Regions from separate parts of the Homo sapiens genome. Here regions 2, 3, 4, 5, 6 and 7 are each linked to region 1. Evidence: promoter capture Hi-C in human tissues and cell types (Jung and others, 2019). All regions are on one chromosome and are shown on one strand. The core of a region is centred on a gene start or on the middle of the fragment in contact, and the rest is flanking DNA. Distances in the headings are between cores, read along the strand shown.

Evidence for each region. The method cuts DNA at HindIII sites, captures the fragments that hold promoters and counts their contacts. A contact is called where the count stands out against the background at its distance.
Region 2: the fragment with the promoter of ZNF7 here is called in contact with the fragment with the promoter of TONSL in region 1 in 2 of the 25 tissues and cell types used here (dorsolateral prefrontal cortex and small bowel).
Region 3: a fragment that was not itself captured here is called in contact with the fragment with the promoter of TONSL in region 1 in 2 of the 25 tissues and cell types used here (dorsolateral prefrontal cortex and spleen).
Region 4: the fragment with the promoter of ZNF251 here is called in contact with the fragment with the promoter of TONSL in region 1 in 4 of the 25 tissues and cell types used here (IMR-90 fibroblasts, bladder, heart right ventricle and 1 more).
Region 5: a contact is called between a fragment that was not itself captured here and the fragment with the promoter of TONSL in region 1, in 1 of the 25 tissues and cell types used here (spleen).
Region 6: the fragment with the promoter of RPL8 here is called in contact with the fragment with the promoter of TONSL in region 1 in 3 of the 25 tissues and cell types used here (dorsolateral prefrontal cortex, mesendoderm cells and small bowel).
Region 7: a contact is called between a fragment that was not itself captured here and the fragment with the promoter of TONSL in region 1, in 1 of the 25 tissues and cell types used here (lymphoblastoid cells).

What each region holds. Positions count from the first base shown.
Region 1 is chr8:144,442,895-144,445,999 of GRCh38, reverse strand. TONSL (tonsoku like, DNA repair protein) reads left to right here and starts at 1,560. Exons shown (of 26, transcript NM_013432.5): 1 at 1,560-1,610; 2 at 1,725-1,820; 3 at 1,976-2,118; 4 at 2,679-2,862. The coding sequence starts at 1,586. RefSeq lists silencers at 965-1,104, 1,145-1,914 and an enhancer at 2,160-2,668. The HindIII fragment of the contact is 9,197 bases long and covers 1-3,105 here.
Region 2 is chr8:144,825,951-144,829,230 of GRCh38, reverse strand. ZNF7 (zinc finger protein 7) reads right to left here and starts at 1,671. Exons shown (of 5, transcript NM_003416.4): 1 at 1,622-1,671; 2 at 141-188. The coding sequence starts at 143. LOC100130027 (a long non-coding RNA gene) reads left to right here and starts at 2,191. Exons shown (of 5, transcript NR_147501.1): 1 at 2,191-3,280. RefSeq lists enhancers at 442-967, 968-1,493, 1,494-2,019 and a silencer at 1,351-2,480. The HindIII fragment of the contact is 13,991 bases long and covers 1-3,280 here.
Region 3 is chr8:144,727,415-144,730,521 of GRCh38, reverse strand. All of the region lies in intron 4 of ZNF251 (zinc finger protein 251), which reads left to right. Among named protein-coding and RNA genes, the nearest start is that of ZNF251, 27 kb to the left of the region's middle. The HindIII fragment of the contact is 6,507 bases long and covers 1-3,107 here.
Region 4 is chr8:144,754,237-144,757,306 of GRCh38, reverse strand. ZNF251 (zinc finger protein 251) reads left to right here and starts at 1,776. Exons shown (of 5, transcript NM_138367.2): 1 at 1,776-1,902; 2 at 2,504-2,611; 3 at 2,986-3,070. The coding sequence starts at 2,579. It overlaps LOC107986986 (a long non-coding RNA gene), which reads right to left. Exons shown (of 3, transcript XR_001746149.3): 3 at 1. The HindIII fragment of the contact is 22,211 bases long and covers 1-3,070 here.
Region 5 is chr8:144,845,286-144,848,275 of GRCh38, reverse strand. It overlaps a transcript of ZNF7 not described here and a transcript of COMMD5 not described here. Among named protein-coding and RNA genes, the nearest start is that of COMMD5, 6.3 kb to the left of the region's middle. The HindIII fragment of the contact is 4,508 bases long and covers 1-2,990 here.
Region 6 is chr8:144,790,556-144,793,838 of GRCh38, reverse strand. RPL8 (ribosomal protein L8) reads left to right here and starts at 1,449. Exons shown (of 5, transcript NM_001317782.2): 1 at 1,449-1,847; 2 at 1,925-2,066; 3 at 2,344-2,562. The coding sequence starts at 1,710. MIR6850 (microRNA 6850) reads left to right here and starts at 1,848; the gene lies at 1,848-1,908. RefSeq lists enhancers at 1-357, 2,770-3,269, 3,270-3,283 and a silencer at 1,528-1,747. The HindIII fragment of the contact is 17,129 bases long and covers 1-3,183 here.
Region 7 is chr8:144,867,401-144,870,462 of GRCh38, reverse strand. No RefSeq gene overlaps it. Among named protein-coding and RNA genes, the nearest start is that of COMMD5, 16 kb to the right of the region's middle. The HindIII fragment of the contact is 3,133 bases long and covers 1-3,062 here.

The DNA of each region.
Region 1 (3,105 bases), core at 311-2,810:
TTTTTTTTTTGAGACAAGAGTCTCGCTCTGTTGCCCAGGCTGGAGTGCAGTGGCGCCATCTCCGCTCACTGCAAGCTCTGCCTCCCGGGTTTACGCCATTCTCCTGCCTCAGCCTCCCCAGTAGCTGGGACTACAGACACCCGCCACCACGCCCGGCTAATTTTTTGTATTTTTAGTAGAGATGGGGTTTCACCGTGTTAGCCAGGATGGTCTCGATCCACTGACCCCATGATCTGCCTGCCTCAGCCTCCCAAAGTGCTGGGATTACAGGGGTGAGCCATTGCGCCCGGCCCTCTCTTTCTTCCTTTCTTTCTTTTCCTCCCTCCCTCCCTTTCTTTTTTTTAAATAAAGATGGGGTATCGGGCTGGGCATGGTGGCTTACACCTGTAATACCGGCACTTTGGGAGGCCGAGGTGGGCGGATCACAAGGTCAGGAGTTTGAAACCAGCCTGGCCAGCATGGTGAAACCCCGTCTCTACTAAAATGCAAAAATTAGCCGGGCATGCTGGCACGCGCCTGTAGTCCCAGCTACTTGGAAGGCTGAGGCAGGAAAATCGCTTGAACTCGGGAGGCGGAGGTTGTGGTGAGCCGAGATCACACCATTGCACGCCAGCCTGGGTGACAGAACGAGACTCCGTCTCACACACACACACACACGAAAGATGGGGCCTCACTATGTTGCCCAGGCTGGTCTCGTACTGCTAGGCTCAAGCGATCCTCCTGACCGGGCCTCCCATAGCGCTCGGATTACAGTGCGGGCCACTGTGCCCGGGCTACTTCTGCAGCTGAAGCACAGGTTCACTGACTCTTCCGAGAATACAGCTGGCATACACATTGCTGAAACAATACTTGTTCACTATGGAAAGCACATTCCCCTCCCAAAACAGTCCTTGGGGCCGAGTCCCCAAATGTGACCCAGCTGCGTTCTGCGGAGGAGGAGCGCGCCTGACACCTTATTACGTCCCCACAGCCAAATGCTCGTGAATTTATCGTCAGTCTATCTGGACACTACGTTCGTTTTTAATAGTTGCGCCTGTGAGCAGGCTGTGTGTGTGAATTTCGGGAGGAATTGGGGCGGCGGCACAGCTCGTCCACCATGAGTAGCGCGGGCGGCACGGGGGCTGCAGCCCAGAAGACCCCACCCAGGGCGCGCTGCGACCCCGGACGGGCTGGCTCCGGGCCCCCGGCCTCCCGCGTCCCCGCCGCCTACGAGGAGGAACGGGGTCCCCACCAGGCACTCCCCGGGCCGGGCAGAGGGCTCCACGCGCGGGCCAACCCGGCGTCCGGGAAGACGGCCCCTAGGGTGGGACGCCCCAGTTGTCGCCGCCACCCCGCCCCAGCTCCTCCCGCACGAGAACTCCGAGGATGCCGCGGGCGGGCCGACCGTACTTCCCGGAATGCCCCGCGCCCGCCGCCGCCGTCGAGGGGCGGGGCCTGCGTGTCGGCGGCGAGGGGCGGGGCCTGCGTGTCGGCGGCGAGGGGCGGGGCCTGCGTGTCGGCGGCGAGGGGCGGGGCCTGCGTGTCGGCGGCGAGGGGCGGGGCCGCGGCGCAGCGCGGGAAGTCCGGATCCCGCGGCGATCCGAGCATGAGCCTGGAGCGCGAGCTTCGCCGTAAGTTCCTCGGGGACCCCTTCCTCCGGGGGCGCGGAGGCTGGGGAGGGCTTGGGACTCGGCCCCGGCCCCGGACCCCGCCGCGGAGGCCCAGCCCTCCTCTTCCTCCCACAGAGCTGAGCAAGGCGAAAGCCAAGGCGCAGAGGGCCGGGCAGCGGCGCGAAGAGGCCGCGCTGTGCCACCAGCTGGGGGAGCTCCTGGCCGGCCATGGTGAGCGCCGGGACCAGGAGGCGGGAGGCAGGGCCGGGGCCCGGGCCCGGGCCGGGATCGGGGGCCGGGGGGCGACGGGCTCTTCCGGCAGACGCCGCCCCAGGGCCGCCCTCGCACCCGCGACGCCTGCCAGGCCGTGCTGTGCCCCCGCCTAGGCCGCTACGCCGAGGCTCTGGAGCAGCACTGGCAGGAGCTGCAGCTTCGGGAGCGCGCTGACGACCCTCTGGGCTGTGCCGTGGCCCACCGCAAGATCGGAGAGCGCCTGGCCGAGATGGAGGACTACCCGGCTGCCTTGCAGGTGCGGGCGCCCTCACTGGCCTCGTCCAGCCCGGTCGGCCTCTGGAGCCCTTTTCTGAGGAGGGAGGCCTGGTCTTCGCCGTCAGGAGCCTCGGGCTGGAGGGGACACCTGACCTGACGCAGCCTTGCCTTCACCGCCCCGGGCCAGTCCTCCGGTGGGGACCCCACAGCCTTTCCTGGGACTGGGGCAGGAGTAGGTTTCCTGGCACCAGAAACCATTACTGAACGTTATTTTAGCTGTGTTTGTGTTGGGGGAGGTCAGGCCCCATCCCAAAAGCTCTCCCTGACCCTGGCTGCTGGAGGCAGGACTGCAACCCCCCCGCCAACTCCCAGCTGCCCCTCCCCACGTGACAGCGTTGGCTGCATACAGCGTGAAGCCACTGTCACCACAGAGAGCCCTTGGCATGCAGAGGAGGGGCACGTGTCTGGCCTTGGCCTGCTCTGTGGGGGTTAGGGGGAGCAGGCTCTTTCCTTAGCAAGAACAGGGTCTCTGGGAATCTGGCGGTGCCGGTTTGCTTGAGGCGGAGTCGGCTCACAGCAGTGACTTCCTTCCACACTCAGCACCAGCACCAGTACCTGGAGCTGGCACATTCCCTGCGCAACCACACGGAGCTGCAGAGGGCCTGGGCCACCATCGGCCGCACCCACCTGGACATCTATGACCACTGCCAGTCGAGGGATGCTTTGCTGCAGGCACAGGCTGCCTTTGAGAAGAGCTTGGCTATTGTGGATGAGGAGCTGGAGGGTGGGCAGACCCCTCCGCGTTTTCTGCCTCCTGAACTTCGGGCCGAAGAGGCTGCAGCCCAGCACCCCCGCAGCCTCCTTGGGCAATCCCGTCTTCTGGAGCCCTCCCTTTGCAAGGCTCTTGTGTGAGGGGTGCATGCCCCGCTCAACCTTTCCCCTGGAGATCGTCAGCTCTTTATCCACTCTGTGCTCCATCTGCCGCAGGACACTTGCACCCACCTCGGGAGGAGGGAGGGGGTAGGAG
Region 2 (3,280 bases), core at 422-2,921, 380 kb before region 1:
CTACCTTGGGGTTGGGGGCAAGGGGGCCTTCCTAAGCCCAGCAAGGGCCAAGGTAGGGTCTGGGCCCAGGGCCAGTGGGCAGAGCAGGAGGTGGGCCTTCACAGGACATGCGAGGGGAAGGAGGCAGTCAAGCTTCCTACCATGAGGCTCAGTGGTGGGTGGGCATCCACGTGTTCTGGCCGAGAGACCTGTTGGCAATTATGAAAGGATTAGAGGTCAAGGTGCCAGAAGCCCAACTTCCAGGCTAATCAAGGGGGTACTGTGCTCTCTGCTCCTTTACCTCCAGCCCCAGATTTCTCTAGCAGGGACATGGGGCTGGGCTGAAGCAGCCATGGCACTTGAGTGAAGGAGGCCCACTGAACTCTTGTTCCTCTTTAGAGTGTATGTGTGTGTGGCATGTGTGACTCACTCCACAAAGCCGTAAGAAGTGGATGCCACGTGCCAGGCACTGAGTAATGGGGATACAGTAGTGGACACGAGGACCCTGCCTTCACGAAGCAGTCTGGCGGAGGAAAGAGTTAAATAACCACACAAATAAGCACACTGCAACCACGACAGCGCTCAAGTACAGGGAACTATGAAAGCCACTTAGACTAGAACGTTCAGTGTAATGGGTCACTTCCCCAGGGACCTCGGCCAAGGTAATGGAGGTGGAGAGAGCACTCCAGGCAGCAGGAATAGCATGTGAAAGGGCCTGAAGCAAGAAGAAATGGGGTTGGATGAACCAGTGTGGGTAAATTCCCGGCAGCAAGGGAAGGCAGTGAGCGACTGGAGGTTGGGGAAGGCAGTGAGCGACTGGAGGTTGGAGAAGGCAGGAGCAAAAATGACAAACTGTAGGGAAGACAAGAGTGGACATGGAAACCCCTGCCCTCAAGTACATAAATTCCAGTCTCCAGCTCACCTGTCGCCAGGATGGAACCAGGCACAGGGATGTAATCTGATATAAATCGTTCACCTCAATTAAGCCAATGACCCCAGACCCTCTACCTGCCCAGGCATTCCCCCGGGAGGTCGGAATGGGAAAAAGAGTCTTCGTATGGCAGCTTCTGGCCCAGAAAGTGGTTTGTGGGTGGAAGCCCCAGGTCACCGGCACAGGTAGGCTGATCCCCCCACCTGGCTCCTGACAGTAGGAATGCCCGGAATAGCAACCAGAATTTAGAGAAGACAAACAGCCTACCCCACCCAAGGCACCGTTCCTTCCTCCACTGTCACTTATCCTAGGCCTTCCGGGGCAATAAATAGAAAGAGAAAAGGCTCTAGAAGGAGGTGATTTCGCAGGAGGAGTCAGGGCCCCGGGAGTAGACCCAGGCCTGAAGAAAAGGCCGCAGCTGGAGCTCGCCTTACTCAGGCCCCGGACACCGTGGCCGCCACGAGCGGGGTCTGCGGGGAGCTGCGAGACTCGGCCAAACGAAGCCCACCTCGCGCCGCCGCGGGGGAGGGTGGCTGGGCTCGACCACCTCCCACACCAGGCGCTCAAGGCCCCGCAAAGCCCCCGCGCTTTCCCGCCTGGAGGCCCGGGGGACGCGGGGACCCCAATGCCGAAGGCGGGAGGGCTAAGGAAGCGACCAGGGATCACTCGGACCGAGGGCAACCCGAGTCCGCGCCCGCCGCGCCGACTCACCCTCCCTGAGGACCACCCGAGGCTCGCAAACGCGCGACGCCGCCGGAAACGGGCCTTGGCCACCCGCGTCCGCCCCGCCCCGCAAACTTCCGGCCGCCCTGGGCCGCTCGGAGGCCCGGCCATCTCTGTGGTTCTCAGCCCCGCCTCCCAGGCTCCGGAGAAGGGGTGGAGTCAGAGCCGAGGAGGGGCGAGGCTGGGGCCCGAGGGACAAGAACCTGGGCGGGACCAGAAGCCCAGATAGGCGGGGCTGGCGCCTGGGGGCGGGGTACAGTCAGAGGCGGGCAGGGGGCGGAGCCGCGAGGGAGAGGAGGGCCCAGAGCCCGGAGTGGGCGGTGCCTGAGCAGGGGCGGGGCGGGGCCGGGGCCTGGAGCTGGGGACGCGGGCCGGGGCCGGGAGTTGCGGACTCGCTGGCGGGTGGGAGGAGCGGAGTCGGGGCGAGGCTGGCGGAGATCCAGGGGATCGCCCGGTTGGGCCCTGCGCACCCCGGATCACCAGCTTCGGGCGCTGGTTCCCACCGAGGCTGTTCAGGCGCCGCTCCCCCGCGTCCCTGCGACAGGAGGCGCCTGCTGGGCGCGCTATGGACCCCGCCTCGCGGAGACGCCTGGCTCGGGCCTTGTCCCCAGTGAGCGGCTGGAGCGGCCGCGGGGTCGCAGAGCCTCCGGGACCCCGAGGAAGGGCGCCCCTCGGAGTTGCCCGAGGCCGGGCCCGGCGTCCACTCGCCACTCGCCTCGCCCCTCCCCGGCCCCGCACCGCCCTCCACCCCGCCTCCTTCGGGTTCCTTCTGCGTCCGGCAGAGCCTGCGCGCCTCCCCCGGACGGCCACGGACTCGCAGCCTCGGCGAGGACGCTGCCTGCGTCCCGACTGCCTGGACCTCCCCGCGTGGCTCCCGGCGAAGCCCAGCAGCCGGAGGGTGCCAGGTCCGCCTGACGCGCCCCTCCCCACGGGAAGAACGGGGCGGGGGTCCAGGAGGGACGTAAGCCGGGCTCCCCCGGCGTGTTGATCCGAACCCGCGCGGGAAAACTTGCGCAAACCAAAGGAGGGAAGAGTCAGGCAGCCCCCAGCCCCCCAGGGAGGCCCAGGTGAAAAACAGACGCCGGCCTCGCCTCTCCCGGTGCGGATGATCCCGGCACTCCCACCCCCGCCCCTGCTGCCCCGAGTTCGGCTCCCTCAGCCCCACATCCTCTCTGGTCATCTAAGTGGACTGCAGCTGCTCAGGGAGCATGTCGCGAAGGATAGGGAAGGACAGGGGGTCTGCTTCCCCAGCCGCCCTCCAGACCCCCAGGGCTGGTAGGGGCCGGCAACCCTATGCCCCAACCTGGCCTGCTGCAGGTGAGGGGGGCACACCAGGGTAACACAGGAGCAGGAGGGGGAGAAAGCCTGGCTAGAGCATCCACCTCATAGGCACCTTCCTTGTGTCCAGGGTGCAGATGCCAGGGCTCTGAGGCCCTGAGGTCCTGTCTGGGGCGAGGGGGCTTCCTCCATCCACTGCATCCACTGCCCGGCTGAGTCTAGAGGCCACTGAGCAAGCAGACCCTCCAAAGCCAGGCACACTCAGGCCCTCACATGGTCACGGTGCTTATGCTCTGGGCCAGCCTGGATTGCTCATCCCTAGCTGAGATTGGGATTCACAGGGTCTTCCAGTTCCCCCTTTTCTTTCTC
Region 3 (3,107 bases), core at 499-2,998, 280 kb before region 1:
GACGCCCCGTCGCAGCGTCACATGCCAGTGTCACCCCCGGGACGCCCCGTCGCAGCGTCACATGCCAGTGTCACCCCCGGGACGCCCCGTCGCAGCGTCACATGCCAGTGTCACCCCCGGGACGCCCCGTCGCAGCGTCACATGCCAGTGTCACCCCCGGGACGCCCCGTCGCAGCGTCACATGCCAGTGTCACCCCCGGGACGCCCCGTCGCAGCGGCACGCGCTGTGCTTTCCGTGGCTGTCTTACCACGGAAGGCCTCTGGGCGGCAGCAGAGCCCACCCTTGCTGCTCTTTCAGTCCAGGGATTGGCGCTCTGGGCCCCGCGCCTGGAGGGGCTTTAGGCCCGGTGGATAAAACATGGCTCTCCACTTCCCTGTTTGGTTCCTGAGTTCTCTTTTGGCACTTTTCAGCCGACTCTGGTGATGTACGAAGGGAGAGGCACTGCTGGGCCTGCCATACAGCTGCACAGTGAGTGAGCGGCCTCGAGTTGGTGGGTGAGGGCACCCGCTCCTGGGAACAACGCCAGCCCTGGGTGGGCTCAGCCCTGCCTGCAATGTTGAGAAACTGTTACAATTGAACATCTTTATCTGAGTAGTCACAAAAAACACATGTAACCTGTTGATAGCCTGATGAGAGATCTGTTTTGGTTTTGGTTCTTCAGAGACAGGGTCTCACTCTGCTGCCCAGGCTGGAGTGCGGAGGTGCGGTCTCAGCTCACTGCAGCCTCCACCTCGTGGGCTCAAGCTCTCCTCTCATTTCAGCCTCCCAAAGTGCGGGGATCACAGGCGCGAGCCACCATGCCCATCCCAAGAGATCTATTTTTAAGCGGGCAGTTACGTTGATATGAGACATCAGGGAGGACCCTGGCATTTAAAAGGAATCTTAGGCCGGGTGCGGTAGCTCACGCCTGTGATCCCAGCACTTTGGGAGGCCGAGGCGGGTGGATGGCGAGGTCAGGAGATCGAGACCATCCTGGTTAACACAGTGAAACCCCGTCTCTACTAAAAATACAAAAAATTAGCCGGGCGTGGTGGCGGGCGCCTGTAGTCCCAGCTACTCGGGAGGCTGAGGCAGGAGAATGGCGTGAACCCGGGAGGCGGAGCTTGCAGTGAGCCGAGATTGCGCCACTGCACTCCAGCCTGGGCGACAGAGCAAGACTCTATCTCACAAAAAAAAAAAAAAAAATAAAAATAAATAAATAAAAGGAATCTTATATGCTTGCTAAAAGGGCACTACGCATGGAGAAAATGACATAAAATTTTGTTTTCGTTTTTATCCCAATTTTTCTTTTGACTTTTATAACCAGGAGCTTTAGGAGTAAACTCGTATTTTTAAATTTTAACATGAATATAGGTCAGGCACACTTCATTTTATTCCACTTCACTTTGTTGTGGCTTTGCAGATACTGCTGCTTTTTTTTTTTTTTTTTTTCCATAGATGGAGTCTTGCTCGTCGCCCAGGCTGGAGTGCAATGGCGCGATCTCAGCTCACTGCAACCTCCGCCTCCCAGGTTCTAGTGATTCTCCTGCCTCAGCCTCCCAAGTAGCTGGGATTACAGGCGCGCGCCACCATGCCTGGCTAATTTTGTATTTTTAGTAGAGACAGGGTTTCACCATGTTGGCCAGGATGGTCTCAAACTTCTGACCTCAGGTGATCTGCCCCCCTGGGCCTCCAAACTGTTGGGATTACAAGTGCGAGCCACTGCGCCTGGCGAACATTTTTTTTTACAAATTGAAGGTTTGTGACGACCTTGTGTTGAGCAAGTCTGTCAGTGCCATTTTCAACAGCACGTGCTCACTTCTTTGTGTCACATTTTGGTAATTCTTGCAGTATTTCAAACCTTTTTTTTTTTTTTTTTGAGACGGAGCCTTGCTCTGTCGCCCAGACTGGAGTGCAGTGGCGCGATCTCGGCTCACTGCAAGCTCCGCCTCCCGGGTTCATGCTATTCTCCTGCCTCAGCCTCCCGGGTAGCTGGGACTACAGGCGCCCACCACCACGCCCGGCTAATTTTTTGTATTTTTAGTAGAGATGAGGTTTCACCATGTTAGCCAGGATGGTCTCGATCTCCTGACCTCGTGATCCGCCCGTCTCGGCCTCCCAAGGTGCTGGGATTGCAGGCATGAGCTACTGCGCCTGGCCTCAAACCTTTTTTTTATATCTGTTATGGTGCTCTGTGATCTGCGATCTTTAATGTTGCTATTGTAATTGTTTCAAGGGCACCATGAACTCTGCCTGTATGAGACGGTGAGCTTAATCGATGAGTGTTGGCTGTCCTGACCCACTGATCAGCCATTCCCTACCTCCCTCTCTCTCTCCTAGGGCCTCCATATTCCCTGAGACTCAGCAATATCGAAACTAGGCCAATTAATAACCCTGGAATGGCCTATAAGTGTTCAAATGAAAGGAAGAGTCACACACCTCTCGCTTTATTGCAAATGTTAGAAATGACCAAGTTTAGTAAGGAAGGTGCGGTGAAAACTGAGACAGGCCAAAGCCAGGCCTTTTGCGTCTGTTAGCTAAGTTGTGAATGCAAAGCAAAACTTCTTCAGGCGTGGTGGATCAAGCCTGTAGTCCCAGCTTCTCAGGAGGCTGAGACAGGAGGATCGCTTGAGCCCAGGAGTTTGAGGCTGCAGTGAGCTATGATCACACCACTGCACTCCAGCCTGGGTGACAGAGTGAGACCCTGTCTCAAAAAGAAAATAACAGTAAAAAGTAAAGTTCTTGAAGGAAATTGGGAGTGCTATTCTGGTGAACATATGAATGACAAGAAGGTACAGCAGCCTTATTGCTGATATGGAGACAGTTTCAGTCCCCCTCAAACTGTCTGGATAGAAGATCAAACCAGACACATTCCCTTAAGCCAAAGCTTCGCCTCAAGAGCAAGGCCCCAACTCTCTTCAATTATGCGAAAGCTGAGAGGGGTAAGGAAGCTGCAGAAGAAAACCTTGAAGCTGGCAGAGGTTGGTTCATGAGGGTTAAGGAAAGACGTAGTCTCCATAACAAAAGCACAAGGTGAAGCAGCCACTGCTGATGGAGAAGCTGCAGCACGTTGTCCAGAAGACCTAGCTAAGATGATTGATGAAGGTGGCTACACTGAATAATAGAT
Region 4 (3,070 bases), core at 527-3,026, 310 kb before region 1:
CCTGTAGGAGATGTGAAAAAGAAAAAGAGGAAATCAAATATTCTGCAATCTTACAACTAGTAATGATGTATTTATTTTCAGCTTTTTATATACGTTTTTCAAGCACTTCCCAAGTATTTATAGAGTACTTACTATGTTCCAGGCTGGTGGCTGAGCAGTGAACAAACCAACCTAGGTCCTTATATCTGGAAACCTTAAGTTTGTGAACTTAAACACCCATATATACAATTGAGATCATATCATAAATATAATTTTGTATTCTATTTTTCACATTCTATTTCATAAGCATTACCCTCTGCCAATACTTTTTTTTCAAATACCACACATAATGGCTGCATAATGTTCAACTGAGTGTACAGAAGACAATAGATTTATCTATTTCTGTGCTGCAAAAAGCATAATTATCTTCCATTTCCCCTTCTATGAATAACTAGCTATTTTCCAAATTCTCCCCATTATTTAAAAAAAACCACACACACAACAAACTCTGGAATGGGCACCCTTCTCTTTGTCATTTTTGTTATTTCCATAGGATAGATTCCTAGATTAATTGAAGTGTTTAAGGCTCTTTATGTACAGCTTAATTCATTTTCAACATTGTACTAAACACGCTTCCTCAAGCATAGCAGTGCGTAATTCTCCACAATCTCCCCAGCACTGATATTAATAATGTAAGGCATCTTCTTAATCATGTGTGACTTTGCATGGTGCTTTAGACTTCTAGACATTCTCCATCCTCGTTGATCGTCTCAAGTTCAGATATAAAATTTCTGCCTTGATTCTAACACAGTGTACAGGGCCTACACTATATTCTGGGTGACAAGATGGCTTGGCTTTCCTTTCCTTCTCCCCCTGCTCCTAAGCTGGTCTCCTCACCTTTATCAAGTGCTATTTTTTCAACCATGCTTTATTGTGTAGGGGCCAAAGGGAAAGTTCCTCTTTGCCCTCTGAAGGTTCACTGAAAGCCAACTCATAAAAGGCAGATTTTTGGAGAAAAGGCAAATAAATGGATTATTTATTTATTTATTATTTATTTTTGAGATGGAGTCTCGCTCTGTCACCCAGGCTGGAGTGCAGTGGCGCGATCTCGGCTCACTGCAACCTCCGCCTCCCGGGTTCAAGCGATTCTCCCGCCTCAGCCTCCGGAGTAGCTGGGACTACAGACGCCCGCCACCACGCCCGGCCTTTACCGCCAGTTTTCACACAGAAAAGCGGGGGGAACATCAGAGTCGTGTTTTTAGGTTTTGTGGCTGGCTTTGGGGGTCTGGCCTCTGGGACTCGCCTTGGGTAAAAGGGATTCACTCTGTGAGGAGCCTCGCGGGAGAAAAGAACTGAGACTGGAGGCCTGGGAAGGTCAGAGGGAAACTGCCTCCCAGGCCTTCATTTTGGGGCGTTGTGTTCTGAGCCCCGATAATTGTAACATCTTCATAAGCGACTTTCTGGTGGTTATGGTGAATCGGGACACACGATGTATGGTGACCGACGGGGGAGCCGGGAGCCCAGCGGGGTTAGGGTTCAGGTGAGGGTTTAGGGTCGGGGCGAGCGCGGCGCGGCCCGGATGCGCAGCGTCACCGCGCCAGACCCTCCGCTCAGCTGCCGTGGGCTCTCCCCCTCCCCGACCATAGACGGCGCAGGCCTCCAGTCATCCCAGAGCGGCCCCGGAAGAATCCGGGCGGAACCGCGGCTGGCTTCCGGTTCCCGGCGTTCTCGGAGGCGTACTGAGGCCCCGCAGGGGGCGGGGAAGCCTGCGTGTGCGCAGCTCGGCCCGGCCCGCCCTCTTCATCCTAGCCCGCCCCCTCCCCGGCTCTGGACCCGGTTCTGTGGGAGGGTCCGTTCCGGGCTCGGTGCGACTGCGCAGCTCCTCGGCGCTTCCTCGGTGGCTTCCCCGGGTCGAGCAAACAGGTGGGGCAGTGTCGGACCAGGAAGGAGCGCCAAGCGGGCAGGCAGGCGGGGAGGGCGCGGGGAGGGCGCGGGGAGGCGGCGGCCAGTCCAGGAGGAGCCTGTTCTGGGTGCCGCGGGAGCCACCGACGGGCTGCAGAGGCCGGGAGGAGGCGACCGCGGCGCGGCCCTAGAAGGCTGGACTGAGGACCACAGCTGGCTTCCGGCCTCTCCCCGGAGCCTGGGGCCTTCGGCAGCATCCCCGCGGCCTCCTTCTCACGTCCTCAGCCTTGGTGAGGCTGCACCCTCACGTGGCTCTTTGCCCCAGGTTGGCCAGGCAGGTAGAACGGCCCTGCACCCCATTTCCAGGGCCTTCAGCAGGTCTGGACCACGGGAACTGCCAGCTTTCACCCCTTAGCCGGGCGTCCCTGGATCCCCCCGGGCTCTGGCTCTGGCCGTTCTGGGATTTCAGGAGTCACTGAGCAGTAGGGCACGTCGGCCCGTGCTGCATAGTGACCTGCCTCCCGCGACCCAGGAGGCCACAGCAGCAATCAGCTTCTGCCTCCTGGCCATCCTTCCACACCCCTGGTTGAATGGGGCTGAGCCTGAGTTCTCCCCACTGAAGGTAAGTTCGGGGAGACTTCAGGCCAGGGCAGTCTCCTGTCTTCTCTTGGAAACCACAGCAGCCCATGCACACAGAATGGCAGCCACATTCCAGCTTCCAGGGCACCAGGTGAGTTAACCCTCCTTCCTGCCCACCTCTTCATCTTCATCCCCATCCCAGTCAGAAGCTACTCTCCTCTGGAGCCGTGAGCCCGGCAACTGGTAAGGCCAGCCAGGGGCTCATAGCAACCGTGAGGAAAGGGTTCTGAGAGGTAGACTCGCCCTCCTGCAGGGAGAGGGGCTCTGAGCTCAGCTGGGTCCCCGTGTAGCTGAAGTTGGCTGGTCCTCAGCGCTCTCAGCTGCCCCATCAGGGACCTGCTGATACACAGTTCATACTGACCACAGCAGGGCCCTGGGTAGTGGGGCCCCACCAGGTCAGGGCCCTTTTAGTGCAGGCTGCTGCCCCGTGGGCATGGCCTGGGCAGCGGCGATGTTTTGTTGCAGGAGATGCCGCTGACCTTCCAGGATGTGGCCGTGTACTTCTCTCAGGCGGAGGGGCGGCAGCTGGGCCCCCAGCAGCGGGCGCTCT
Region 5 (2,990 bases), core at 86-2,585, 400 kb before region 1:
GGAATGCAATGGCACGATCATGGCTCACTGTAGCCTCAACCTCCTGGGCTCACAGGCACACCACACCACACCCGGCTAATTTTCAGATTTTTTGTAGAGATGGGGTTTTGCCACGTTGCCCAGGCTGGTCTTGAATTCCTGGGCTCTGGTGATCTGCCCACCTCGGCCTCCCAAAGTGCTGGTTTTACAGCAATGAGCCACCACACCCAGCCATGAAATTTTAATTTCATGTGTCACAAAGTATTTTTTTCCATTGAAAAACCATTCTTAGTCCAGGCATGGTTGGCGCCAACCCCATGAGCCCACTGGACCCCTCCAGTACAGAGCACCTGTCCATCCTTGTCAGTGGCCAGTCTCCATTAGACCTGGACTCCAGGGCAGAGGCCAGCCCTGTCCATCTTTGTCCCCGTGGCTTGCACAAGGCCTTGCACAGAGAACGGATGTCTGCATCTGGGAAATTACTCCCTTGGTTTTCTTGGCCTTAGTTCTCTGTGGAAACTTGCTGGTGATTTCCCTCTCCTGTGGCACTGTCCTGAGCTCAAAGCCTGGATGCCTCCCCACCTGCATCACTCACTCATTCAGCAAACATTTCTGGGGCTCTGAGTCAAGCTGCATGCACTGGGGACTTGAGGATTTATAAAATGGCCTGGACCCGGCCCTTGCTCTGCTTCACTTTGTGAAGCTTCCAGAAAGGTCCAGATAGTTTCAATTCAGTGTCATAAATGAAAGATTATTCTGATAGTTGAGATAAAAAGCAATTCCAGGCCTAGGTTATAGATTTAATTTATTGTCTCCAAAACAGAAACCCAAAATGTTTTTATTTATATATTGTGGAGACAGGGCCTCACTCTGTCACCCAGGCTAGAGTGCAGTGGTGCGATCACAGCTCACTGTGGTCTCCGAACTCCTGGGGTCACGTGATCCTTCCTTGGCCTCTCAAAGTGCTGGAATTACAGGCGTGAGCCACCGTGCCTGGCCTGGAAACTCTTTAGATGAGCTTACCGAAGCCCGAATTGCAGTGCAGTGTGAACAGGTTAACAGGATATTCTAGCACCTGCACTACCCCATGAGCAGCCCCTCTTCCTCTCCCTCTCCACAAAAGAACCACCAGCCTGTGTGCCAGGGGCCACCTGGATGCTTCCATGTGATACTCAGATCTCAAAGCTGTGCAGTAGCTTGAATTTAAGTCATGTGCTCACACCCTTGGCTCTCAGCAAGCTGCCCCATGGACATGATGTGTCATTTCCACATCGTGCAGCTAGAAGAGGACTCCTCCTCAGCTCGGCATGGTGGCTCACGCCTGTCATCCCAGCACTTAGGGAGGCCGAGGCGGGCGGATCACGAGGTCAGAAGATCGAGACCAGCTGGCTAACACAGTGAAACCCCGTCTCTATTAAAAATACAAAAAAATTAGCCGGGCGTGGTAGCAGGCACCTGTAGTCCCAGCTACTCGGGAGGCTGAGGCAGGAGAATGGCGTGAACCCAGGTGGCGGAGCTTGCAGTGAGCCGAGACCGCACCACTGCACTTCAGCCTGAGGGACAGAGCGAGATTCCGTCTCAAAAAAAAAGAAGACTCCTCCTCCCATCCCTCCGTGGCTAATATCTAACCTGGATTGTTGGACTTTAGGTTTACTTCTATTGAACTGACCCAGCTGCCTTATTCTCAGTTGTACCGTGACATTTAGGTAAAGAAACCACTAAGGGCTGAGAGGAAAAATAATCCTTCAGTGGCTGGAGGGCATGAAGTCATTTTCCAAGTTCAAGGTGACTTGGCTGGTGTGGTAAACACTGCTGCAGCAAGAAAGCCGCCAGAGGCTCCATGAAGACGCTTGGGCATCACCAAGCCCAGGGACACTGTGCACAGTCAAATTCGATTTTAACATAGTTTTCAAATGTCACAAGTCTCTTATTTTCTCCCCAACCATTCAGAAATGTAAAAAGCTACGAATGGTTTGCCAGCCCCTGACTTAGGACCATGTCAATCCAGAGAGAATCCAGGTGCTGAAGCAGAATGAAGCTTGCACCCCAGCCCCTTTTTGGCTGGTTGCTGTTAGTGAAAAGAACACAGCATTATGGTTAGCACAGAATCTGGAATTTTCAGACCATCCATATGGCTGACGTTCCCCTCCTTCTGTCCTGATCATGAACCAGGAAGTGGCCAAGAGGAGATGACGAGAGCCCAGGAGGAGGCAGGGTCAGTCTTTGTGAGCAGTGTTTTGGAAGGCCAGGAACAGGAGTTGCAGGCGGTGCATGTGGGTGCCTTGGCTCTTGTCCCATGGTTGGGCGGCCCAGAAAGCCTGAAGTAGAGAAAAAGCAACAGCAACCCCTGTGCTAGACCTGAAGGTGACCACCTGGCTAAGCACATTACCTGCCAAGACCCTTCTCAGCAGCCACGTGACGCAAGGCAGGGACACTGCACACATACTCCACGTGCACAGAAGTTCCGGTGTGAGTAGGGCATGGCTGGAGAAGAGGCAGTTACAGTGGATGCACTGACTCCATGGCTGTGGAGAGCACCATCACCCTTGTACACCGGGAGGAGCCCCTGAAGAGGCAGGTGGGAGGTCACCAGTCAGGAGTTCCAGGTTCCCCCTGAATGACAAGGACTGTGGAGACAGGGTTGAGGTCTTACAGTTGGCCTCATGCCTGTGAATATCAGCCTTAATTAGATGCTGTGTGAGAAAATCAAATGGACAAGGTCCCAGCCTGTTAGATTAGGGTTGAGCAGCAGATTCACGTGAAAATTCAATTTCAGCAAAAAAGCATCAGGCCTTGAGCAAGCCACCTGCCATCAGCCACGCCTCCCTCCATGTTCCTGCATGTGCCAAGAACCCCACCGTGCTCCACCTGGGCCACTTCTCAAGGTTGTGTCAGCAGCAAAAAAAAAACTGAGGGGTGAGGTAATGGCCCCCCAGCTCCCAACAGAGCAGGCTCACTCCTCACCTCCGAGTTTCTCAGCTGTGCCTGCACCTGCTGGGCCTCTGCGTCAT
Region 6 (3,283 bases), core at 200-2,699, 350 kb before region 1:
ACCATCTTGGGGACCCCACAGCCTGTGTGTCCAAGCACTCTTCTCACCTCTATCCCGCACCCAACTCTCCTTCTGCTCCTCCAGAGAAGCAGATTTGTTCAGGAGTGACGGACAGGCTGGGCCTGTGGGCCAATTTTGGGCTGACCCCAGAACCCCTCACCCTGCCCCCAGGGTCCAGTCCTGCCCCTCAGCCCCTGGCCCTAGCTGTGGGCTGTGCTGCTTCCTGAGTCCCCACCGGGCAGCTCCTCCTCCATCCCCCTGCCGACCCTAGGGGAGGGCCTCCTGCAGCAGCCCCTCCTCTCCCCTGTGAGCAACAGCGGGCACAGGACACCCTTCCACCCTCTCCTGTCTCCTTCTCACGATGTCAACCCTGCCTCAGCCCCTGCAGGGTCTAGGAAACACCCCACCTCCCAGTACCGACAGCAAGCCTCTCCCGCCCACTGGGACCCCCGCCTTCACCTCCTTGCTGCCTCCCCACCCACGGCCTCGCGTGTGCTCGACAGTGCTCACTCAGCCAGGGACTCTCTCCTGGAAAACCTCTTCCCCACCATCCCCCACCCGCGGCCTCGGGGTCCCACCCGTTAGGGGCCCGATTCCGCGAAGCCCCTCTCCACAGCACGTACCGCAGGACACCCCCAGTCGGGCTGACTCTTTCCAGCTCAGGCCCCCACAGCCCCTCCCAGCCTCCATTTCTTGCTCCTTCCCCACCTCTCCCGCACAGGGTTCTGGTCAGGGTACGGTCCAGTCTCCCATTATTCGTCCACTCCGCAGCATGTGACCCAGCCCATCCCCGCTCCTTCTTCCTCGACCCGGGACCCTCCAGCTTGGCCCTCCCCACTTCCTGGGCCGGCCGGCCCTCACCCTCGGCAAGGATCCCGGGGCTCCTCTCCTCGACGCCCGACCTCTCCAAGGGCCTACAGTGGATAAGGTCCCCGCGTCCAGAAGCGCCCGTTCATCAGGGAGACGGACATTTGCCACCTGCAAACCATGACGTTCCACGAGTGGGTCCACGCGTCTCCCCTGCCCATCTCCTGCTCTGCACCAGCGAGAACCCCCTCGGCCTACACGGAAGCCCCTCACCAGGCAAGCCGGGAGCCCCAGACCCCGTGGCCCGGAGTGGGTCGCTCTGTGACACCCTGGACAGGTCACTCAACCACTTGGCGCCTCCTCGGCCACTCAGAAAACACCTGCCCTCCCGGAGACCCCGGTGAAAGCCGAGCACTCCTGCACCCTCCTTCCGAGCCCACGCACACCAGGACACCTTCAGCCGCGTCTCCTGGTGCGCCTGCGCGGGGGCCCTGGAGGAGGAGAAGTAGGCGGGGCCGGCGGCCGCTGGTGACTACAAGCCCCGGCGTGCACCGCGCTAGGCTGGCCGTGGCGCGCCCGGAAGGTGTCGCGGCCCTGGGCCCCGCCCCGGAAGATAAGGCCGCTCGCTGACGCCGTGTTTCCTCTTTCGGCCGCGCTGGTGAACAGGTAGGTCATCCTTGCGGCCTTGCGGCATGGGCAGTATCCGCCGCCATCCTCTTCCGTGAGGCGCGCTGAGACCCGGACCGGCCCTCCTGAGAGGATGCCGGTGCGGGCGCCCGCGGAGAGGGTAGGGAGTGGTGGGCGCGGCGGCCTCGGGGGCGGGGTCCCGGAAAGCCGGGCTGGCGGGGGTACCCGGGCCGCCCGGCCGCGCTAATCGTGAGTCGCCCCCAGGACCCGTCGCCATGGGCCGTGTGATCCGTGGACAGAGGAAGGGCGCCGGGTCTGTGTTCCGCGCGCACGTGAAGCACCGTAAAGGCGCTGCGCGCCTGCGCGCCGTGGATTTCGCTGAGCGGCACGGCTACATCAAGGGCATCGTCAAGGTGCGGAACGCTGGCCGGGGCGGGAGGGGAAGGGACGCCCGGCCGGAACGCCGCACTCACGCCGCCTCTGCCCACAGGACATCATCCACGACCCGGGCCGCGGCGCGCCCCTCGCCAAGGTGGTCTTCCGGGATCCGTATCGGTTTAAGAAGCGGACGGAGCTGTTCATTGCCGCCGAGGGCATTCACACGGGCCAGTTTGTGTATTGCGGCAAGAAGGGTTAGCATCGCGGCGGGGAAGGAAGGTCGGGGTGGGGAGGGGTCTGGGTGTTGCCTGAGGAGTTAACGTCCTAAGCCGATATGGGAACCTCGCAGGCAGAAGCTTCAGGTGGGGACATCCGCGTGGCCAGACCAGTGGCCACCGGTGGGTGCCGAGAGAGTTGTACCGGGAGGCTGGATGTTGAATGCTGTGCTCGCAACTTCGCGGGTTGCCTAGAGCGAGGGGGTTCGCATTGTTTCTTACTGTGCTGACGGCCTGATGCTGCTTCCCCTTGCAGCCCAGCTCAACATTGGCAATGTGCTCCCTGTGGGCACCATGCCTGAGGGTACAATCGTGTGCTGCCTGGAGGAGAAGCCTGGAGACCGTGGCAAGCTGGCCCGGGCATCAGGGAACTATGCCACCGTTATCTCCCACAACCCTGAGACCAAGAAGACCCGTGTGAAGCTGCCCTCCGGCTCCAAGAAGGTTATCTCCTCAGCCAACAGAGCTGTGGTTGGTGAGTATCAGGCAGCAGTTGAATGCTGAGGGCTGTGGGTGAACATGCTGTGAGTGCCGGTGGACAGCCAGTGGCTAGACTTGGTCCCTGGAATTCGATTACCTGTTGTTCTAAAACTTGGGTTCTGTAAGTTTGAGCTCATCCTGTAGTCTCAGTTGTCATCACTGTACAACAGGCACAACAGTACCTGCTTTACTGCTGTTGAGGCGTTAAATGAGATTGGGACGAAGTCACCAGGGTCTTGGATTCTACCGTGGGCTTCCTGATTGCTGCACTTGCATGCAGTTGGTTAACAGCCTTTTTAGAGAAGGCAGGGAGAGATTGTGGCTTTCTCAAAGACGCCTACTGAGTGAGTGAAAAAGGATTTGAGTCTAGGTTAACTCACTGTGCTGTTTGGGAACATCTTGGAATCCTTGTGATGAACTCAGCCTCGCACAGGGGAGGCTCTGAGGTTGTGTTCCTGGAATAAGTAAAGCTGAGATGGGGCAGGCTGAATCAAGTGTCTTACGTCAGGTTGAGTGGCCGGCCTGACGTCTCACACATGGTGAGGGGGGTGCTTCCCTGCGCTTGGAGCTCAGCCAGCATTCTAGGTGATGGAGGTGAGGGCCTTGGCTTGCCTGCCCATTGTGGATTGAAGAAACTGGATGTCAGCTCACAGGGTGCAAGGGGCTCCCTAGGGTGGAGGCGAGTGGGCTTTTTGCTGGGTAGTTGGATGCAGTAT
Region 7 (3,062 bases), core at 261-2,760, 420 kb before region 1:
AGAAAAGAAAAGACACCTGGGCCCAGGGGACCACTACCACCAAGACGCAGAGACCGGTAGTGGTCCCAAATGCCAGGCTGCACTGATATTTATTAGATACAAGACAAAGGGGCAGGGTAAGGAGTGTGAGCCATCTCCAATGATAGGTAAGGCCACGTGGGTCATGTGTCCACTGAACAGGGGGCCCTTCCCTGCCTGGCAGCCGAGGCAGAGAGAGAGGGAGAGAGAGAGACAGCTTACACCATTATTTCTGCATATCAGAGACTTTTAGTACTTTCACTAATTTTCTACTGCTATCTAAAAGGCAGAGCCAGGTGTACAGGATGGAACACGAAAGCAGACTAGGAGCGTGACCACTGAAGCACAGCATCACAGGGAGACGGTTAGGCCCCTGGATAACTGCGGGCAGGCCTGACTGATGTCAGGCCCTCCACAAGAGGTGGAGGACTAGAGTCTTCTCTAAACTCCCCCAGGGAAAGGGACACTCCCTTTCCCGGTCTGCTAAGTAGCAGGTATTTTTCCTTGGCACTGACGCTACTGCTAGACCACGGTCTACTTGGCAACAGGCGTTTTCCCAGATGCTGGCGTTACCACTAGACCAAGGAGCCCTCTGGTGGCCCTGTCTGGGCATAACAGAAGGCTCACACTCATGTCTTCTGGTCACTTCTCACTATGTCCCCTCAGCTCCTATATCTGTATGGCCTGGTTTTTCCTAGGTTATGATTATAGAGTGAGGATTATTATAATATTGGAATAAAGAGTAATTGCTACAAACTAATGATTAATGATATTCATATATAATCATGTCTGTGATCTGATCTAGTATAACTTGTTGTTTTATATATTTTATTATACTGGAACAGCTCGTGCCCTCGGTCTCTTGCCTCAGCACCTGGGTGGCTTGCCGCCCACACTACCAAAGTGCTGGAATTACAGGCATGAGCCATCATGCCCAGCCATCGTTTTCTTTCTTTTTTTTTTTGTTTTTTTTTTTTTTTGAGGCGGAGTCTCGCTCTGTCACCCAGGCTGGAGTGCAGTGGTGCGAACTCAGCTCACTGCAAGCTCCACCTCCTGGGTTCATGCCATTCTCCTGCCTCAGCCTTCCGAGTAGCTGGGACTACAGGCGCCTGCCACCACGCCTGGCTAATTTTTTGTATTTTTAGTAGAGATGGGGTTTCACTGTGTTAGCCAGGATGGTCTTGATCTCCTGACCTCATGATCCTCCCACCTCAGCCTCCCAAAGTGCTGGGATTACAGACGTGAGCCACTGTGCCCAGCCCAGCCATCATTTTCTTTCATCACTTTGTCCACTGAACTTAGGAGCAACCAACCAGCTTCATCATGTTCCTTGGTTCTCCACATATAGTCAAAGATATTATGTATAGGGTCACTAAACTCCTTGCCTCTCATGAATGGTGAATCAGGAGTGTCAAATGCATTTATTTTGCATAACTCTCTAAACAGTTTATGCCAAGGACTATCAGTGTTCTCCATACTATTAGAAGTAGAGTCCTTAACATTTTGGGGTCTAATCATATTAACCAGCCAAATCCAGAAACCCCAAAACCAATGACAGAACTCCATCCTTAATATCCTCTTCCTCCAGAACCACTCCTGGTACAAAAATCTGTATTAGTCAGAGTTCTCTAGAGGGATAGAACTAATGGAATATATATAAAAAGGGAAGTATTAAATTACACAATCACGAGGTCCCACTATAGGCTGTCTGCAAGCTTCAGGAGCAAGGAGAGCCAGTCCAAGTCTCAAAACTGAAGAACTTGGAGTCAGATGTTGGAGGGCAGGAAGCATCCGGCATGGGAGAAAGATGTAGGCTGGGAGGGTAGGCCAGTCTGGCCTTTTCACATTTCTCCAGTATTAACCATCACACCTATAAATTTCCCCAGCCTATAAGCAGCTATGGGCTCTGGAGTTAAGCTCGTCCCCCATCTCCACAGGTTTTTGCAATATACCTGTGTTGTTGCTGTTGAGCAACAATCTCTCTCTCTCTCTCTGTCTGTCTCCCCCCTCTCTCTCCTCTCTCTCTCTCTGTGTGTGTGTGTGTGTGTGTGTGTGTTTCTTTAGCCCTTGCCCTCCCTTCAAAACCTAACATTTTAGTGCCAAAACCCAGGATAGGAATTGGGTTCTAAATGGGTAAATGTTTTCTAGCAACCTGGAAAGCAGCAAGCAGCAAAAACCAGACCCAGGCCTGCTTCCAGATCCTGAATGGACTCCCTATTCCCAGCTCCGTTCCTTTATTCTCTCTTCTTCTCTGGTCCTGGGCTGACTTCCAGATCCTGATCAAACTCTCCATCCTCTTTTTCCTTCCTTCCCCTTTCCAGGCAGCTCCAGCAAGTATCAATCCCATTGCTGGACATCACATCCAACACCCGTCTCCAATTAGTGGGTGAGTCTCTCTTTTTTTCCTCTCCAGATTCCTCTCATATTTCTGGGGGTTCACCAGAAAATTCCAGTACCAGGTGAGAGGTCTCCCTGGTCACCAGGTGACCGTGGCCTACCCTCTCAGGGGACGCCGTCAGAATGCTCACCACTTTGGCCACTGCAGCCTCTGGGGGTCTGCAAAGAGCTGTAGGGACGCCCTGGCTCTCCTAGGTCCCTTCTCCCAGGAGGAATCGGGGTACTCACTCCCCTCCGGGGTATTCACTTCCCTCTGGGGTACTTCCATCCTCTAAATTTCTCACCCTCTGGCCAGCAGTATGGGGCAACACTCCTCAAAACCTCAAGACACCACTCTTGGATGTTTCCATCCAGAACCTCCAAGCCCAGGGCTTGGCAGACTCCATTAAAACTGAACGCCTTGCTGGCCAAGTGTGATAGTTCATGCCTGTAATCTCAGCACTTTGGGAGGCCAAGGTGGGCAGATCACAAGATCAGGAGTTCGAGACCAGCCTGGCCAATATGGTGAAACCCTGTCTCTACTAAAAATACAAAAATTAGCCGGGTGTGGTGGCAGGTGCCTGTAATCCCAGCTACCCAGGAGGCTGAGGCAGGAGAATTGCTTGAACCGGGGAGGCAGAGGTTGCAGTGAGCCAAGATCGTTCCAC